Regions from separate parts of the Homo sapiens genome. Here all the other regions are linked to region 6. The links are contacts of gene promoters, found by promoter capture Hi-C in human tissues and cell types (Jung and others, 2019). All regions are on one chromosome and are shown on one strand. The core of a region is centred on a gene start or on the middle of the fragment in contact, and the rest is flanking DNA. Distances in the headings are between cores, read along the strand shown. Region 1 overlaps MRTFA (myocardin related transcription factor A). Region 2 overlaps MRTFA (myocardin related transcription factor A). Region 3 overlaps RANGAP1 (Ran GTPase activating protein 1). Region 4 overlaps MRTFA (myocardin related transcription factor A). Region 5 overlaps MRTFA (myocardin related transcription factor A). Region 6 holds the start of RBX1 (ring-box 1). Region 7 holds the start of ZC3H7B (zinc finger CCCH-type containing 7B).

Evidence for each region. The method cuts DNA at HindIII sites, captures the fragments that hold promoters and counts their contacts. A contact is called where the count stands out against the background at its distance.
Region 1: a contact is called between a fragment that was not itself captured here and the fragment with the promoter of RBX1 in region 6, in 3 of the 25 tissues and cell types used here (dorsolateral prefrontal cortex, hippocampus and lymphoblastoid cells).
Region 2: a contact is called between a fragment that was not itself captured here and the fragment with the promoter of RBX1 in region 6, in 1 of the 25 tissues and cell types used here (lymphoblastoid cells).
Region 3: a fragment that was not itself captured here is called in contact with the fragment with the promoter of RBX1 in region 6 in 1 of the 25 tissues and cell types used here (spleen).
Region 4: a fragment that was not itself captured here is called in contact with the fragment with the promoter of RBX1 in region 6 in 2 of the 25 tissues and cell types used here (bladder and liver).
Region 5: a contact is called between a fragment that was not itself captured here and the fragment with the promoter of RBX1 in region 6, in 2 of the 25 tissues and cell types used here (adrenal gland and dorsolateral prefrontal cortex).
Region 7: the fragment with the promoter of ZC3H7B here is called in contact with the fragment with the promoter of RBX1 in region 6 in 1 of the 25 tissues and cell types used here (dorsolateral prefrontal cortex).

What each region holds. Positions count from the first base shown.
Region 1 is chr22:40,627,455-40,630,154 of GRCh38, forward strand. The region is part of intron 1 of MRTFA (myocardin related transcription factor A); the gene reads right to left. Among named protein-coding and RNA genes, the nearest start is that of MRTFA, 7.9 kb to the right of the region's middle. The HindIII fragment of the contact is 9,289 bases long and covers 1-2,700 here.
Region 2 is chr22:40,484,242-40,486,941 of GRCh38, forward strand. The region is part of intron 3 of MRTFA (myocardin related transcription factor A); the gene reads right to left. Among named protein-coding and RNA genes, the nearest start is that of MRTFA-AS1, 36 kb to the right of the region's middle. The HindIII fragment of the contact is 4,610 bases long and covers 1-2,700 here.
Region 3 is chr22:41,262,917-41,265,616 of GRCh38, forward strand. It overlaps RANGAP1 (Ran GTPase activating protein 1), which reads right to left. Exons shown (of 16, transcript NM_002883.4): 5 at 1,748-1,927. Among named protein-coding and RNA genes, the nearest start is that of MIR6889, 11 kb to the left of the region's middle. RefSeq lists an enhancer at 1,204-2,079. The HindIII fragment of the contact is 7,310 bases long and covers 1-2,700 here.
Region 4 is chr22:40,466,469-40,469,168 of GRCh38, forward strand. All of the region lies in intron 3 of MRTFA (myocardin related transcription factor A), which reads right to left. Among named protein-coding and RNA genes, the nearest start is that of MRTFA-AS1, 54 kb to the right of the region's middle. The HindIII fragment of the contact is 5,159 bases long and covers 1-2,700 here.
Region 5 is chr22:40,522,751-40,525,450 of GRCh38, forward strand. All of the region lies in intron 3 of MRTFA (myocardin related transcription factor A), which reads right to left. MRTFA-AS1 (MRTFA antisense RNA 1) reads left to right here. Exons shown (of 4, transcript NR_109965.1): 1 at 1-223; 2 at 616-690; 3 at 775-968. Among named protein-coding and RNA genes, the nearest start is that of MRTFA-AS1, 2.3 kb to the left of the region's middle. The HindIII fragment of the contact is 3,575 bases long and covers 1-2,700 here.
Region 6 is chr22:40,950,000-40,952,699 of GRCh38, forward strand. It overlaps RBX1 (ring-box 1), which reads left to right and starts at 1,379. Exons shown (of 5, transcript NM_014248.4): 1 at 1,379-1,477. The coding sequence starts at 1,400. RefSeq lists enhancers at 341-931, 1,446-1,655, 2,111-2,699 and a silencer at 816-1,395. The HindIII fragment of the contact is 18,244 bases long and covers 1-2,700 here.
Region 7 is chr22:41,300,151-41,302,850 of GRCh38, forward strand. ZC3H7B (zinc finger CCCH-type containing 7B) reads left to right here and starts at 1,375. Exons shown (of 23, transcript NM_017590.6): 1 at 1,375-1,622. It also overlaps a transcript of RANGAP1 not described here. RefSeq lists silencers at 1,062-1,401, 1,682-1,751 and an enhancer at 1,483-1,984. The HindIII fragment of the contact is 5,663 bases long and covers 1-2,700 here.

The DNA.
Region 1 (2,700 bases), core at 83-2,582, 320 kb before region 6:
TTACTATTATAGTTTTCCACCTCAGGAATGGCAACCAGATACATATAATGAATACCGCACAGAATATTTTCTGAGCTATAACATCTTGATTACTACTACAAAGAGTTCTCACTATAACTGACATTTTCGCTAACTATGCAAAAGACACTGAACACGAAAAGACATTTACTAGAGGCAAAGTTAGGAACTTCATATACATCATGGTAGGAAGCCAGAATTATTTAATTCAAAAACAGATCTGGATTCAAATCCTGGCCAGGCACAGCGGCTCATGCCTGTCATCTCAACAGTTTAGGAGGTCAAAGCGTGAGGGCAAGAGTTCAAGATCAGCCTGGGGAACACTGTGACACCCCGCCTGCACAAAAAAATTTAGCCGGGCATGATGGCACACGCCTATAGTCCTAGTTATGCAGGAGAACTGCTTCAGCAGTTTGAGGTTACAGGAGTTTGAGGACACAGTGAGCTATGACCCTGCCACTACACTCATGTCTGGAAGACAAAGCAAGACTCTGTCTAAAAAAAACAAAAAAGCAAAACAACAACAAAAATCCTGTTATCTAGAAGTTCCTCTAGAAGCTTCTCTTTGCTCATCTGCAAAATGCTGCTACTACCACTTATTTCAGAGTTCATATGAGGATTAATAAGGTAGCACAATGTCTACTATAAAGTAGATGCCCCTATTACTTCCCTCTTTACATTTCTTCATAATCCTTATAACGACCTCATGTTGTAAGGATTATTAACTCTAGTTTACAGATGAAGAAGCTGAATCACAGGAAGGTTAAGGAGTAAGCCTACAGTCACATACCTGGTAACTGTCAGTACCCAGATCTGCTGTGCCCTAAAACTTGACATGGACATGTTACCTCACTGGATATTTTACTCTGTCATATTATGAAGTTCAGAACTTTGTTTGAATTATGCCCATTATGCTTTAAATTTTAATACAAGAACAATTATTTTCAAAAACCAGAATCACCCATAATTTCCACTCATAATTTTAGAGGACAAAGACCTGTAAATAGCCTACCTATCTAGAAATTCAGTAACAGAGGACACACTCCAGATCTCAAAATGAACTAGCCAAATTACTCATTACAAGCTCTCATTTACACAGAGAATGATTTCTAAATGCATATCAATAAGAATGAGTGGGGAGCAAATGAACCAAACATACCACAGAAGTAAAAATGTGGAAGTAAAAAAAAAAAAAGACATTTTCACAACGCTCTTTCTTCCAAGGATTCTACAGATCTTCTATTACTGCTATATGAGCCGGCCTTAAATACTGTGTGAGGAACTGGCCTGGGCTCAGCCCCTGGACTGTTGTGGAACTCAAATCATTTAATTTCACAGTGCCTCCTCCCACTAAACAATGAGAGAACTGGACTTGAGTCATGAACCACAGAACTGAAGGCAACTTGAGCAATTAGTTCCACCCAATGCACCCTGACAGGTCACCCAATTTCTGCTTTAACACCTGCAGTGACACAGAGTGTAATTATCTTCTCTCCTCATACATGTGATATGGATTCAGTATTTTTAAGAATTTTGGCCAGGCACGGTGGCTCACACCTGTAATCCCAACACTTCGGGAGGCCAAGGCAGGAGGATTGCTGTGGCCAGGAATTTGAGACTAGTCTAGGCAATATAGCAAGACTCTCTTCTCTTCTCTACAAAAAAAATTTTTTAAATTAGCCAAGCAGAGGCTGGGCGCGGTGGCTCACATGTGTAATCCCAGCACTTTGGGAGGCCGAGGCGGGCGGATCACTTGAAGTCAGGAGTTTGAGACCAGCCTGTCCAATATGGTGAAACCCCGTCTCTACCAAAAATACAAAAAAATTAGCCGGGCATGGTGGCACATGCCTGTAGTCCCAGCTACCTGGGAGGCTGAGGCAGGAGAATGGCTTGAACCCGGGAGACGGAGGTTGCAGTGAGCCAAGATCGAACCACTGCACTCCAGCCTGGTCAACAGAGCAAGACTCCGTCTCAAAACATAATTAAAAAAAAAAAAATTACCCAAGCAGGCCAGGCACAGTGGCTCACGCTGTAATCCCAATACTTTGGGAGGCCGAGGCGGATGGATCGCCTGAGGTCAGGAGTTCGAGATCAGCCTGGCCAACATAGTGAAACTCCGTCCCTACTAAAAAAAATATATACATATACAAAAAATTAGCTGGGCGTGGTGGTGGGTGCCTATAATCCCAGCTACTCGGGAGGCTAAGGCAGGAGAATTGCTTGAACCCAGGATGCGGAGCTTGCAGTGAGCCGAGATCCCGCCACTGCACTCCAGCCTGGGTGACAGAGCAAGATTCCATCTCAAAAAAAAAAAAAAAAAAAAAAAAATTAGCCAAGCATGGTGGTACATGCTGTTGTCCTAGCTACTCAGGAGGCAGAGGCAGAAGGATCACTTAAGACAAGGAGTTTTGAGGTTGCAGTGAGCTATGATCCCACCATATGCTTCACAAGAGCTTAGAGGTGGAACTAGGGCCCACACTAATACCTAGAATGAGAACCTGTGTGGCTGAGTTTGAGGGACAAGGTTAATCTGGAGGGCATTTAAAAGGTACAGGACTGGCCAAGCACGGTGGCTCATGCTTATCATCCTAGCGCTTTGGGAGGCCAAGGCAGGCGGATCACCTGAGGTCAGGAGTTTGAGACCAGCCTGGCCAACATATAGTGAAACCCTGCCTCTACTAA
Region 2 (2,700 bases), core at 6-2,505, 470 kb before region 6:
AAATTTAAAAATAAAATTTGATAAAGTCTGCAGCAAAATTTGTCTTCTCTGTGGAAGAAAGAAATCCATAAAATTAAACTTCATGTAGTGTCTGAGCGTAAAAGCTACAAATCAGCTAAACTTGTTGGAATGGGTTAAAATTCTCAAGATCAAACACATAAAGGAGAAGCCAGATCATTATAATACATTAGGAGCCCATTTAACTACTGTAGGATTTTCCCACTCCACATCCCCCAGGTTTAGTAAAGACTTTTCAAAAGCAAAGGTAGGTGTAACTGTAGAAGAGTTCATGTTATAAGTACCGCAACTTTGTATTTCCTGAAGTCTGTGTGGTTGAATTTGCAAATGGAACATTTCACTACTGCAGGTTTTGCACAAAATTTTACGAAACAAACCTGCATTAAGTTAAAGCAGAACTTAAATAAATGCCTTTTCTGGATACTTCAGAAACAATTTCCATATATTTCCTATTACAGAATTCTTTTAATTTAGATACTCCTTCAACATACATGAGTAGAAGGGAAATTCCAGCTCAAAATCTAAAAGTAGAGGCGGGTGCGGTGGCTCACACCTGTAATCCCAGCACTTTAGGAGGCCGACGCAGGCGGATCACGAGGTCAGGAGATCGAGACCATCCTGGCCAACATGGTGAAACCCCGTCTCTACTAAAAATACAAAGATTAGCTGGGCATGGTGGCACGTGCCTGTAAATCCCAGCTACTCAGGAGGCTGAGGCAGGAGAATCGCTTGCATCTGGGAGTAGGAGGTTGCAGTGAGAGGAGATTGCGCCACTGCACTCCAGCCTGGCAACATAGTGAGACTCCGTCTCAAAAAAAAAAAAAAAATCTAAAAGAATGCAAAGTGATCAAATAATTCCTCCATACCACATACCTCAATTTTCTAGCATAATTCTGAGTGATGCAGAGTGCCACACCTATCAGCAGAATGCTTATTTTAAAAATGTCCCTGATACTACCATGTACTTTTCCTCCTCCTGATTTTCAAATCATCCCAGTATTAACATCCATCCCTAAGGAATCTCACTAGTAGTTTCAGAAAAATGAATTTGATTTGTTTTACACACTGTGGGACAGACAACAAACAAGACCCCTTTTCCTCTGCCTCTTCGATGCTTCTCCTGGGCATGAAAACAGCCTGAACTGTGGCAACAGCTGGGGATCATTAAACTGACAGAAATAGCTTAGGAGACTCCAATGGTGTGTGAAGGCGGGAGGAGAGCCTGAGTATCAGATTAAAAAAAATCAAAAGGGCAAAAGGAAAGGGGGGCAGGGCAGGGAAGCCTAAGGAGTGTATCACACCTAAATTTCCTTTACCACAGCCAAGAAGATGCAGTGAAGCAAATGACAGGATACATGAATGCGGCCTAAATTGCTTAGCCTCCTACCTATTCCTAGATGGAAGGTTTAGTCAAACCTAAAAATGTGGGTCTCAATGAAGACATGGTGGGGAAGAGTAGGGAGGAGAACTGCGGAATCTCAAAGGCTAACTATGGGTCTGGAAGAATCACTTAGAGGAGGTTGCAATGATGGTAAAAATAAACTCTAAGATGGAGGAGGAGCAAGGGCTGTGAGAATACATCCCAAGCCCTAAGTGGACTCAGAGATTAACGTAGTCCTAAGGCATCTCCCTCAACTGGGAAGGACCAAATGCTACATGAAATGCATGTTCTTGTTCTTGCTAGAGCACAGCCATGCCTCCCCAGTGGTAGCTTTTCAACCTGGCAGGCCTTCGAAGGTCGGTGCAGGAATGAGCCATCTGCCTGGCCCACTGCCCGAGTGTGTTCAGCACATACCTGAATGCCCTAGAGTAGCTTTATTCAGATCACCCCAAGGGAGTGGGCTTGCAGATCCCGACTTACGCCTTTAAATCTGGTTAGTCCCAGGATCCTGGTGTACCTTCTTCATCCCCACACTTGTTAGGCTGTCTATTCAATATTATCATCAAGGCTTCTCCCACCAAGGCGTTTTCTTTATAACTAATCTTATAGGACTGCAGTTTCAGATTGTTCCCCACCTGCAAGCCCGAACAGGAAATGATTCGATTACGGATATTAAGACTGCAACTTTCTTTGGCAAGAGTGTTTTGTAACTATGAGATTGCACCAAGCTCGGTTGAACATTTTATTCAATGAATCTAATTACTTACTAAAGAAAGTTCCAGGCTGGTGACTGGTCTCAACAAAAAGCTACCACTATACTACCTTCTTCTTGAATAGCTTGCTTCTTTTCTTTATTGTTTTTTTCTTCCTTCCACTCTAGGAGGAAAATTTGCTTCTTTTCTAACCACAAATCTGGCAGGAAAATATGCTCATGCATATTTCCATACTAAGACATTTTTGTCTAAACAACTGTATTTGAATCTGGCTTTTTATAAGAAGTCCAAAAACCTTACAACGGTTGGCTCATTACGAACACTTTAAGTTCGTATTAAGAAGGGTACAGGGAGCCGGGTGCAGTGTGGCTCACGCCTCTAATCCTAGCACTTTGGGAGGCTGAGGCTGGTGGATCACTTGATCTCAGACAGCCTGGGCAACACGGCAAAACCCCATCTCTACAAAAAAATTAGCTGGGCATGGTGGCACTTGCCTGTGGTCCCAGCTACTTGGGGGACTAAGGCGGGAGGATCACTTGAGCCTAGGGGGTCAAGGCTGCAGTGGGCCAAGGTTGCATCACTGCAATC
Region 3 (2,700 bases), core at 184-2,683, 310 kb after region 6:
CACACTAAACACACTGCCCAGAAGAAAAAGATTCCAAAGGACCTGCAGGCCTTGGTTAGACACCCAGACCATGGCGTCTGAGCTCCCAAGAGGCATAGGTCAGCAAGGCCGAGACCCAGAGACCTAATCAAATCAGTGGTCAGGGAGGCACAGAGAACCATCAATCAAACTCCAGGGTAGGCCTGTCTGCCCAGGAGGCCCTCTGGTCCTGGGTCCAAAACTCATTCCCCAACTCACCCCATTACAAGTATAGGACAGGCCAGACAACTCCTGGCCAGTAGGAAAGCTCCCTGAGCCTCAGTTTCCAGGCACTGCTGGGCAGGAGAAGGGAAGTAATGGAAGGAAAACCGAAGCATTTTGCTAGAATAGAGTCTCTGGCTCTCCCAGCGTATGCCACTCACTCTAGGTTGGGCCACGCCTGCTTTCTGTGCTGACGCAAACGTTTTTATATGTTTCTGTTTGTTTGTTTGTTTGTTTGTTTTTTTGAGACGGAGTTTTGCTCTTGTTGCCCAGGCTGGAGTGCAGTGGCGCCATCTCGGCTCACTGCAACCTCCACCTCCCGGGTTCGAGCAATTCTCCTGCCTCAGCCTCCCGAATAGCTGGGACTACAGGCACCTGCCACCACACCCAGCTAATTTTTGTATTTTTAGTAGAGATGGGGTTTCACCATGTTGGCCAGGCTGGTCTCGAACGCCTGACCTCAGGTGATCTGCCCGACTCGGCCTCCCAAAGTGCTGGGATTACAGGCATGAGCCACTGCACCACCGTGCCCGGCCCATTTTTACATCTTAACACAGGGATAGCTTATTGCCCAAGTGGACTTGGGGGAGGGCTGGCTAAGGCAGGCACAGAGCCTGCCCCTGCTCACCCTCACGTCAGGCCGAGGGACACAGGCACCCTCTGCAGGGGAGGCCACTCCAGCTCCTCAGCCTGGGGCTCCATGGGCCTCACAGCACTAGCTATGTGATCCACTCCACCCCATCTCTCTAAGCCTATGCTGAGTCATGTGGAAAAACTGGGATGGCATCAGCCACCTTTCAGTGTGGGTGGGAAAAGTTAAGGTATTGCATATTCAAATAAGATATCCCCAACTGCTGTTACTTCTGTGTCCCCAGCCCTTTTCTCCCTTTGGTTAGAAAGTGTGTGTAGGGGTTGCAGCCTGGCACTCAGTGTCCTCCAACCCTGGGTCTAAAGGCACTGGGATGGAGTTGGAAGAGAATAATACGGCAGGCCGCCCTTGATGCAGGTTCTGGGAAGCAAAGAAGCTCCACTCTACACTGACCAGCCCAACGTGAAGCTCTACACTGACCTTGCCTGAGGACACCTCCCTGGGCAAGGCCCTGTCTAGGAATAAAGGTGAGCTGTGACGGTGCCCCCCCTGAGCATATGCTCCTCTTTTCAGACTCCCTCTGCCTATGTGCCAGGCTCTACCAGCTGCTCTGCGGGTACAGTGAGTATAGGGATGCCCCAAGCCCTGAGTTTTGCAGAGCCAGCAGGCTGGAGCAGGTATGCAGTGGCACTCCCTCTGCGTTGCCAAGCCAACCCAAGAACTGGGGATGGTTGCTTGGCAACCCCACCCTCATGGACGCCTCTACCCTCCGGCCACAGGCTGTTGCCTTTGAGGCCTTTCTCTTTTGAAAACAACGGCTGACCATCCCAGATGGTGGTGGCCAAGGGCCAGGGCACATATGTCAGACGGATGTGGATGGACCAGGGGACTCTGCGGGGAGGGGGCTGCCACACCCACCTTGCCGCCGCCAATGCCCATGCCACAGTTGTTGAGCTTGAGTTCCTGCAGGGTGAAGCAGGCTGAGCTCTTGAGCAGGGCCTCGAAGCCTTGCACACCGTCGGGCCCGAATGCGTTGTCGCTTAAGTCCAGCTCCACCAGCTGAGCCCCAGCTGTGATGAGTCCTTCCCCTAGTGAGATCTGGGCACAGAGGAAGCTCGTGTCAGTTTCATAGACACCCAGCTTCTGTGCTGGGTGCTGCTTCTGTGCCAGGCCCAGCTCTGCCTTCCAAGGACACCCCGGCTGGTGCAGAACCAACACAGACACAAACCATTTCAGTATTCTTAAGACTGGAAACCCTGCAAAGGGCTCCTAACAGCTGGAGAGTGGGGGATGCGTATGCCTGGAGTGGCCCGGGAAGGCTCCTTGTAAGAGGTGGCATTTGGACTTAGTCTGGATGAGAATCAGCTAGTCAACATGAAAAGACTCCAGGCAGCTGAAAAAACAGGAGCAGAGAGACATAAGCATGAAGCAGCAGGCTGTGAGCCTGGAGGAAAGCTGTGGGTAGGCTCCAGAAGAAGCCGTGGCATGGGCTTTGGGTGGAAGGGAAGTGAGGGGTCAGATCAGGCAAGAGCCTTGAATGCCAGGCCAAGGACTGTGAGCCTCAGCCTGAGAGCAGTGGGCTTTGAGGTGGCTGAGGGATATGGAATTAATATCCCCAGACCTGAGGTGAGCAGATGCACAGAAAGGGGGGCTGGAGTGCCCACCCAGGAGTGTGAGGCAGCGACACTGGCAACAGAGGGGACCTGCCAGCCGGTGTGACAAGTGTGGGAGAGGAGCTGCCTGTTCATGGAGCAGGGGACATGCAGAAGCTGTTGGTTCCCTGTTCGTGCAGGAGGAGGGAGGGAGGAACCACAAATGCCTCCAGGGTTTCTGGTGGTGACTGGCAGATGGAGGTGGCCATCTCTAAGCCA
Region 4 (2,700 bases), core at 200-2,699, 480 kb before region 6:
TGGAGGCACCTGATCATATGCAATGTGCCTCTTTGTCAGAAAGAAAAAGGAGAGCCAAGCAGGATAAAATCTAAGAGGGATAAAAGGGCAAATAATTGTCATCTTTTAGAGTGTTTCTAAAGCCCAGTGTAAGATGAACTATTAGAAAATTATTAAATGTGACAAATTAATTTTATTTCAGAGAATAAGGGAACAATGCAATTCAGTAAGTCTGAACACTTCAAAGAAACAATAACATAAGCAATGGCTATTAATCCAAGAATAATTTTGAAATATTAACCACTAGCCTTCTTAAGTAAACCATATATGAATAGGGCCATAGGGATATTACATAAACTTCTTGATTGAAAAACTTCTTGCTTCATGAACGCAAAAATTTAAATTTATGAAAGCTAACACATTTAATAAATTTGATTCAAGTTTTCTGTGGAGATTACAGTAAAGGCATATTCAGCTTATATATACATACACATATACACAACCGTGTATATATTATGCATGTATATATATATATATATTTATACACACACATATACAGCTCCAGTACAAAGACGAAAGCTTATCTAATAAACCTTTTCCATCTCTAAAACTGAATGAAATTAAAGTTCAGTTATCTGAAAATTCCATCTTGTCCCTCCCAGGAGTTAACTTTGAACTCTGTGCTTATCTGACATCTGACAAAGTTCCCCACTCAAATAACAGAATTATCCTGTATCAGTATCATCTTGGGTACTGCAATAACCTGATTTAGGTATGTGTTGTTTTATGCACTGCATAACCTTCAATGGTTACAAAGAGGGGGAAAAAAGACTGAAGCAGTAAACTCAGAATTATGGCAGTCAACCTATAATTCATTTTGTTTTATAATTTATCTGCTTTATGTTTATCTGTGTAGACTAAAAATGATCCATCGTCTAAGACTTCCAACTACAAAGAAACAGCTGTTTATATGGAGTTTTTGTTTCCTTGGTCTATTAATTCCTCTTAATTCTAAGCATTCTAAACAAAATGACTTTACATTTCCAGACCTTAGGATTATTCATTTTAGAAGCAATTATTTAATAACCTACTTTCAGTAAATACCACAGAGCCATATGTTCTGTGTTCACTGCCAAAGTTACCAAAATCAGGAATAAATTTCAGAGGCCATAAATTTAATACACATCCACTCTCACCGAGAAATATCTGAAACAAATGATGATTTTTCACAGACAGTATAAGCCTATGGAGATTTAGGAGAGTAGGAATTTTGACATCTTTCTATGTCATTGTATATCACTACTTAGATTTGCTCATCATTCCCCAAGCCAATAAAGACTCAACAAAAATATTTATTTGTATACAAGCATAAGTCTTTAATCCTTTACTGTTACTGATTTCCACAAATTTAATATATCATGTTTCTAAATGGGCCTGTGTGAACAACCTATACATAGATGAACAGATGTCTTTAGAGCTGATGGGTGGTGAATCAACTGAGTTGCCTGCCAGAAAAGAATGGAATAAAAAGAAAAGAAACCCAACCATAAAGTGAAAAACCCTAGGTTCTCCACTCTCCATGGAAATAATCAAGTTTTTTACCTGCCTCAAACAAAGGCATCAATTGCTATTTGAATAACTAGCTACTTTGGGGGTGAGGGAAAAGCCAAGGAGTGACCTTAATATATCTCTGCCCTGTAAGACCATGGAAGGATGTTGATAGGATTCGAGGGGTAATACCCAAGAAATGAACACATCAAACAGCTGGGTCAATCAAGACTGGAACAAGAAAGGAGTAAGAAGTGGAGTTCTCAAGCCTAGCTCTTCCACCGGTCATTTGTCCTGGATTTCACTGGAAAGGAAACATGCAGTTGATAGCTGTTCCTACCTTATACATGTATTGATTCCACCAAGACTTCTACAATCAGAAGATAAAGTATAAATTATGAGGAAGTAGAAAAGAATAGGAAGGTGGGGTTAGTATGGGAAGAACAGGACAGTAAAAAAACAAGACCCCTCCCTCCACATAATCTTTTGCCCAGCTAAGTCCTCTCAAGGAAGATTCTCAGACTGTAGGGACATTTCATTAACTGAGCTGTAACTCAGGAATACTGACAAGTCTTTTTCTCATGAAACTTCTAATCAAATGACAATAAACTTGGCCACCACTTTTCAGAATATTTATGTTAGAAAAGGCTCCAAAACAAACTTGTTGATGAGTAAAGGAAATGCCCCTGGACTAGAAATTATATGCCAGCCAAAACAGTGCTGCATTTGAAAATTAATGAGGTGTATATGCTTGAGGAGACCAAAATGCAGACAAGCCTTCTCAAAAATCTTTTCTCTTCCCCCACTCAGATATTTGGCTTCCAACTCTGGAGGCTGTCATACTTCAGGGGGGAAACTGCTATCCAGAAACAATCAACTGAAAGACTGGTCTGGTTGGAGCCAAGTTTGAATGCATCAGTTTTCATGAGAATTAACAATGACCTTCACACTAAAAACATTAAAATAGCCCCAGTATACTAGAAAGTAAATTAATAGATGTCATTTCTGGCATTTGTAAGGTACAACTAATACTAGAGCATTTCTACATTTTAATAAATTGCATGGTGCTTATTTAACTAACTTTGAATAAGGAGTATTTGAGTTTATCTCCTCTAAAAATCGCAATCTACCTCACTCTCAACAATAGACAGAACAACTAGGTAGAAATTAGTA
Region 5 (2,700 bases), core at 134-2,633, 430 kb before region 6:
CCTGACCTGAAGTGATCCGCCCCCCTCAACCTCCCAAAGTGCTGGGATTACAGACGTGAGCCACTGTGCCTAGCCACAGGTATGTTCGGGATGGTTTCAACCAACATCAATAGAACCAACTAAGAATAGATGGCCTTCAGCAACACAGAGGGGTAGCACAGGAGTTCCAAAGATCAGTAGTTTGAAAATCAGGTCACAGGGAGTCCACGCTATATGATCTTGGGTAAGTCACTTAACATTCTTAGCCCCCCGTCTGTTCACCTGTAAAACCAAGGTTTGTTATCAGGTCATGTCTAAGATCCTTCCCAGTTAAACATTCTAGAATGCCAAAAATAAGCCTATTTGTTCTTTCTTTGAAAAATGAAGAAAAATGGCAAAAAAAAAAAAAAGTTGTCAAATTGTGAACGTTTATCTAACACAGAGAACTATACCAGGAGCAGGTTTTCTTTTTTGTTTCCTGTTTTACCCTATTCTTCCATACTAATTAGACATCATATAAATCCCACATATAAATCCAACACATCTCATAGCATCTTGGGAAATAAAAATAAAATATCTTTTGGAACTGAACTTCTCAACTTTAATATGCATGTGACAATCTTTTTTTTGAGATAGGGTCTCACTTTGTGGCCCAGCTGGAATACCGTGGTGCAAACACGGTTCACTGCAGCCTTGACCTCCCAAATTCAAGTGAGCCTCCCACTTCAGCCCCCTAAGTATCTGGGACTACAGGTGTGTATCACCATGCCTGCCTAATTTTTGCATTTTTTGTAGAGATGAGGTTTCACCATGTTGCCTAGGCTGGTCTCAAACTTCTGACATCAAGCAATCTGCCCACCCTGGCCTCCCAAAGTGTTGGGATTACAGCTGTGAGCCACTGCACCCGGCAAATAATCTTTTTAAAACAGATTGTGATTCCGCAGGTCTGAGGTGGCGTCTGAGATTCTGCATTCCTAATAGGCTTCCAGGTGATACAAAGGCTGCCAGACCTTGGAACATACTTTGAGTAGCAAGGTATTAGAAGAATACGGACATAGTATCTGTTTGAGTAACCTAATTAATGTTGATACCTAAGTTTTCAGTACTTTACATAACCAAATAAATTAGTCTTATGGCACTGATTTGAGGAATATAATCTTATCGATTCCCAAGAGAATATACTAAGAAAACAGTTCAAAAAATCAAGTTTAATTAATATTTTAGTTCCTCAAGATCCTATTTGCAAGGAAAAACAGAAAAACAGAAAATCAGAAAGATACAGCATCATGAATTGTTAAGGACAATTTTCACACCCTATAGTCAATGAGCAAAATATATTGCAGAAATGCACTTTCAAAAAATTAAAACAGGCTGGGCAACATAGTGAAAACCTGTCTCTCATTAAAAAAAATTTTTTTAGCTGGGCCTAGTGATGTGCACTTGCAGTCCCAGCTACTCAGGAATCTGTGGTGGGAGGACCACCTGAGCCTGGGGAGGTCCAGCCTGCAATGAGCTGTGATTATGCCACTGCACTCCACCCTGGGCAGCAGAGTGAGACCCTGGCTCAAAAATAAAAGCTACACAAAAAAATAATTAAAACATTGTATACTAACACCACCATTTTATGCCTACAACAAATCAGATTATTCTTACCCAACAAAAGCAAACAAAAAATTTAACGTGTTGTTTTTTGACAGAAAACTTCTGAGAGGTTCAGCAAATTGAGAGTAAATGAGTGTACACAGGAAGGAGCCACAGCTCTGCCAAGAACATGGCCTAACACAAACACTGCAAAGATAAATTTCAATAAGTCTTACAAAATAGAAACAAAGGCAAAAATGTAAAAGAGATTTATACAAACTCAACTGGTCAGAGGGAACAGTTTAATGAGATGGAGTGCCTCCTTATCATGCAGTATTTGGTCAGTGGAGGGAGCACTTTGACTGCAGAGGTTCCAAATTAACAGCTCTATCTCCTAATCATTATGCTTCCATCCATCTTCTTCCTCTTTTAACTGTACCTACCTGTGTATGTGCATACACACAATTTAACATAAGCTTTATTTATTTTTGTGCGTGTGCGTGTGTATGTTTTTGAGACAGAGTTTTGCTCTTGTCACCCATGCTGGAGTGCAATGTCGCAATCTCGGCTCACTGCAACCTCCACCTCCCAGGTTCAAGCAATTCTCCTGCCTCGGCCTCCCAAGTAGCTGGGATTACAAGCATGGGCCACCACACCCAGCTAATTTTTTTGTATTTTTAGTAGAGATGGGGTTTCGCCATACTGGCCAGGCTGGTCTTAAACTCCTGGCCTCAAGTGATCCGCCCGCCCCAGCCTCCCAAAATGCTGGGATTACAGGGGTGAGTCACTGTGCCCAGCCAACATAAGCTTTATTGGAATACAAAAGAAATGTATGCTCATCATAGAAAATCAGAAAGATACAGGAAAACCCAAAAGATGGAAAAAATATAATGTCCCCTATGAAATCTCACTACTCAGAGAAAGTTATTCATATTCTGGTGTATAGCCTCAAAGCCACTTTTCTAGAATTATAGAGATAAGTGGTAAACATTATTCCACATTTTAAAAATTATTTTAAAAAATTTTTTGTAAAGATGGAATCTTGCTATGTTGCCCAGGCTGGTCTTGAACTCCTGGGTTAGACAGGAAGCTGTCGGGGAGGTTTGCTTGAGCCCGGGAGACAGAGGTTACAGTGAGCCG
Region 6 (2,700 bases), core at 129-2,628:
TCACACCTCTGCAAGGTTAGAGATGTCAAAGGGAGTCCTGGTCTAGCCAGAAATGGGAGAGTGACAAAGTACAGGTGCTTGGGTCGGGTGGGATGGCTCACTCCTGTGATCCCAGCACTTTGGGAGGCCGAAGTGGGAGGATCACTTGGGCCCAGGAGTTCGAGACCAGCCTAGGCAACATAGTGAGACCTTGTCTCTATTTTTTAAAAAAATTAAAAAAGAAAAAAAAAAAAAGCGGCTCTAGCACTTTGGGAGGCCGAGGCAGGCGGATCACCTGAGGTCAGGAGTTCGGGACCAGCCTGGCTAACGTGGTGAAACCCCGTTTCTACTAAAAATACAAAAAATTAGCCGGGCGTGGTGGCGGGCGCCTGTAATCTCAGCTACTCGGGAGGCTGAGGCAGGAGAATCGCTTGAATCCTGGAGGCGGAGGTTGCAGTGGGCCGAAATCGCGCCATTACACTCCAGCCTGGGCAACAAGAGTTAAAAAAGAATGCCTCACAAAAATTCAAGAAATACAGCGACTGCAGATGGGTCGGTTTCACTACAGCACAAGCAGCGGAAAAAGGACACAGATCGGGGAGAAATCACCCTACAAAGATGACAACTGAGGAATGCGGAGTGGGGACTGACACACGTTACGGTGAAACCGTGCACCACGACCAAAGGCGGTCCTAGGACTGCGACTATGTGGGCGCAGAGGCCACCCCCCAGGCTTGGCGGGCGAGTAAAGGCAGGGCTGGGGGCCTGCTCAGTGTGGCCTTAGGGAGGAACTTCGGGGGTCTCCTCTCTCCCCATCGAATCCCTGAGCAGTTCCCGAACAGAAATCGGAGACCAGACGGTGCCTGGGCCCCAGCCCTCCCACGGGGACTGCACCTTGGGCCTGGCTCGGAAGCGGGTCAGAGTCTGCGAAAGACCAGCGAGGACTCTTGGGTTTCGGGGCAGGCCGCGGGCGCCCACCCACGCCAGCACCGGGAGCCGCGCGGCGACTCGGCGAGCCCGGCAGGCAGGACAGGACTGCGGCGCAGGTCTGGCTCAGGCGGAGGAAGCAGCCGCCGCCCCAGCTGACGGAGTGCGGCCGGGGGCTTCCCAGAGGAGGCGGCGACGTCGAGCCCTTTCGAACGTTTCCACCCGGCTAGCTCACGTAGCCTCGGCCCCGCCCGGCCCCGCCCGGCCCCGCCCCACCCACTCCGGCCACCGCCCCCTCCCCGGCCTACAGTTCGCGGGTGGGGCGACCTGCGACAGCCCCTTTAAGAGGCGTGGTCACGTGCTCCGCCCCCACCTCCGCCTCGCGCGCCAGTAAGGGGTGGGGTGCGGGAGGAGGTGCCGGGGAGGTGGGGGGAGCGAAGTGTGCGCTGCTGCGCAGGCGCGGTGGTCGGACGACAGACCGTGTGTTTCCAAAATGGCGGCAGCGATGGATGTGGATACCCCGAGCGGCACCAACAGCGGCGCGGGCAAGAAGCGCTTTGAAGTGAAAAAGGTTGGGTCTCGCCAGCGCCTTCCTCAGGGAAGCTAGAGAGGCGCGGATCTGGCTGGCAGGCCCGAGGATGGTCGAGGCGCGGAGTAAAGGGTTTCATTTCAGGGCGTTCCTGGGACCGGGTACCACGAAAGGAAGCCGGGGGGCGGGTCTTAGAGTTGATCGGCGTGACGGCGGCCCACTGTTGGGGGAAGTGTTGGTTTCGCTGTGAGGCTAAGGGGCCAATCACAGAGCTGCTTATTGAGATACGCGGGGTTGCGACTTGGCGGCGGGAGCCAAGCGCTTGAGCTGTCACTGGAGTGGTTGAGAGGTGGGGGAAGGACAGGGTAGGGTGGGGTGGGGTGGGTGGAATGGGGAGTCGAAGCGAATGCGGCGGTGGAGGATGGGGCAGTGCGGCGAGAGCCTGGAACCTGAGGTCCTACCGCATTAGAGGCCTCTGAGGACCCCCCTTGGTGATCTTGCTCCGCCCCTTTTTGAAGCTTGGGGTCCTCTCACTTGGAGGGGTCCTCTCACTTGGAGGGATCCTCGCTGAACCGAGGCCTCACACTGCCTGGTTAGAGTCTGGAGTGTAATGCTTGGCTCTTCTGAGACGTCTGTTGGCTTTTCACACAACCACCCCACTCTTGGGTTCTCTGTCACGTCCAGAATCTCCCCCTTCCAAAATAATAATAAAAAGCATGGTGGAACTTGTTAAGAAAATCCGAGCCCAAATCCTGTGGCAGTTAGGGAGGGTTGAGTACTAGTCGCGAACGACTTGGTAAGCGTGGGAAAGCAAAAATGGAACGTGTCTTTTTGCATGAAATGCCTTTTAGTGGTTTGCCACAGTTTGGGAGAACAGTATCGATTCTCACCTAACATGAAAGCTGTTCAAAATGGAGATTCTAAAATAGGGAAGATATTCCTAGAACATCTGGCTAAACACTGACAATATCCCCCGTCCTAGTGCTTTTTGGTGTCTCATTGTGGCCACTGCTGCTCAGTTACAGCCAGCAGCCATATTGAAAAATAATAGAAGTAGGGGCTTTTCCTCCACCTTGAAGCTGTGATGTGAAAAGTGGTAAAGAAGTTACTAGGCACTGAGAATGGGGTTTGAAAGCGAAGAAGGTTTGGGAGTATTTGTAATTGAGGAAGCCAGAGTTGAATGAATGAAATTCTGTTAAACTCTTACTGGAATTATTATCTTAATAGAAGAGTCTAAACATATAAAAGTTGAGAACATCAGTTTA
Region 7 (2,700 bases), core at 125-2,624, 350 kb after region 6:
GGTACCAACTTGAAGAGATAAGAGGCTGGTGTCCTGCTGAATCCCCCTTGAATGATGGACAGTCCTCTTCAAGAATATGTGTTCATTATTTCACCAGCAACCTGGGGTGGTGGAATCACCAGACCATTTGCCATCTAGTTCACTTGAGGCAAAATGCAGCAATCCAACTGGCCTCAGCATCCTCATCGATGAAATGAGAGTGATAATAACCATGGTGGTAAATGTGATAAGTTGTCAAGGGTGTTTCATTGTAAATTGCCTAGGGGGTATTGGGAACTCACACACACACACACACACACACACACACACACACACACACACACACACACATATATTTCTGGAGACAGTTTTGCTCTTGTTGCCCAGGCTGGAGTGCAATGGCATGATCTTGGCTCACTGCAACCTCCACCTCTGGGGTTCAAGTGATTCTCCTGCCTCAGCCTCCTGAGTAGCTGGGATTACAGGCACCCACCACCACGCCTGGCTAATTTTTGTATTTTTGTAGAGATGGGGTTTCACCACGTTGGCTAGTCTGGTCTTGAACTCCTGACCTCAGGTGATCCACCCGTCTTGGCCTCCCAAAGTGCTGAGATTACAGGCGTGAGCCACTGCACCCAGCCCTGATTGTCAATATCTAATCAGGTTCCTCATTTTCCACCATTCCCCAGGTGATGTCTGATCACCTTGCCCTGCCTTCAGCAAGAATCTTGTTAGATGGGTTTAAGCGAGAATCCTCTCATCTCTGATGCAGTTTCCTATGCACTGGCGCTCAATCAGTGGATCCTTTCTCCTTCCTCATAAATTCCCAGTTGCCCATGCTGATTTCTGAATTGAGCCCAAATACTCTCCCTGACCGCAAAACCCACTGCAGTGGTCCCTACACCCATCATGATGCCAATAAAGTCGGCCTTGTAGTCTTTAACAAGTGTCATTCAATATTTTTTTTAACATCCTATACATAAAACTCCAGCCAAGTGAGGTCCTGATTCTTCTATGTGTCTCCGGTTCCCATCTATGAGAAGGGCACAACGCAACCAGGGTTTTGGGCAGCCTTCCATGAAAGCACCTGGAAGCCGGAGAAGGGGGGCGGGGGGACTTTTGACACAGATGGGGAAGGGCGGAGGCGCTGGGTTTGAGCAGCATCAGCCCAGAAATGCAGAACTGCCAAAAGAAACCCCCCTAAAAGGCAGGACACTTTTAAAGAAAATAAAGGTGAATTCCAGGCATGAGCTTTCGACGGGGAATGGGGCTTCCCCGACTCGCCCCCACGCCCCCCGCCCTTCTCCCCAGGTGCGCAGCCCGCGCCGCCCACCCCGGGCGCGGCGAGGCGACGGGAGCCGAGCTCTCTAGGACCCGAGGAGGAAGAGCTGCAGGGAGACAGTGCCTCCAGCGGGTGCTGCCGCGAGCGGCCAGCCGAGGGGCTGGAAATGAAAGTAAAGCGCTCCAGAGCCACATGGACGGAGCTGCCGGGGCGGCGGCGCCGGGAGCAGGATGCGGCCGCCCGTAATTAAATAGCATTTACTCTTATTATTACTAATAATAATAACGTAATCATACCTCTAGTCATAGCATACCATTTATCGGGCTCGGCGCAGGCCCGCGGGGAGCGCAGCCCGGCGGAGGTGAGTGCTTGGCGCGGCCCGAGCCCCGCGGGGCAGAGGCCGGGGACACTGCGTCCGGAGCCGCCCGCGCGCGAGGGTTCGGGGACGCCCGGGCCGGGCAGGGCTGGGGAAGAGGCGAAGAGAGCCCTTTCCAGGCCGGGGCCGCGCGCCGGGCCACCTGGAAAGTGGGATTTTGCAAAAAATAAATCGTCTCTAAAACCCCATTTGCTCCTTTTTGGGGATCCCGGTCCCCGTGCCCTGCCCCAAAGTTTAAAAGTTACCGTGTGGCCGGGGGCACCTGGCGCTGGGGAGACTTGGCCGCCCCTGCAGCCCCCAGGAGGTGTCTTGAAATTTTCGTGGGGCCTCTCTCTTCGGCGTCCGGAGCTTCTGGGGTGTCCAGATGCTTTGCCGACCCCGCGCAGGGGGTCTCGGGGGCTGGCAGGGGCGTCGCTGGCAGGGCCCCCCTTCCTTTTGTGTTGTCCTTGGCCCCGCAGCACCCGGAGTTGGAGGGGCCGCGGCGAGGGCCGGGGAGCGGGGCCGCCCGACGGGCCGCCCCTTTCGGCTGCGGCGGCCACGCGAGCCCGGGGATCCGGGGCCTGCAGCCGGGCCCGCGGGAAGGGGGCGGCAGGAAAGGGGGGCGCGGTCTGGGCCTGCTGGGCAGGGGGGCGTTTCCGGTCGCAGGATCAGTCTCTGGACTTCGAGGCCTGTGGGAGGCCCGCGGCCGTCCAGGGAGTGCTAGGGGGCTGCGGACCCCGGCTCTGGCGCCTGGGGACGGGGGCGCCCTGACGGGGCTGGGGGCCTGGGAGCCGCCGACTCCGGCCTCATACCCCCATCCTGCCCGCTGCGAACCTCAGGGCCCCCCTCCGGGTTTGCTCCCTCCTCCTTTCCCCTCCTTTCTCCTCAACTCTGTCTGTTTTAGGCGTTTATAAGGCGCCTGGTTGGGGGGACTTTCACAGACAAAGCCGTCTTCCCAGGGGGGAAAATAATCATATAAAAACAGCTCACTCTGATAGAACCTGATGGCTGTATTGCCAACAGGGCATTGACGGGGAAGACTAGGGGGCTAGGGCCCTGCGTGGGGAGTCTGGGGGCTCTAAAA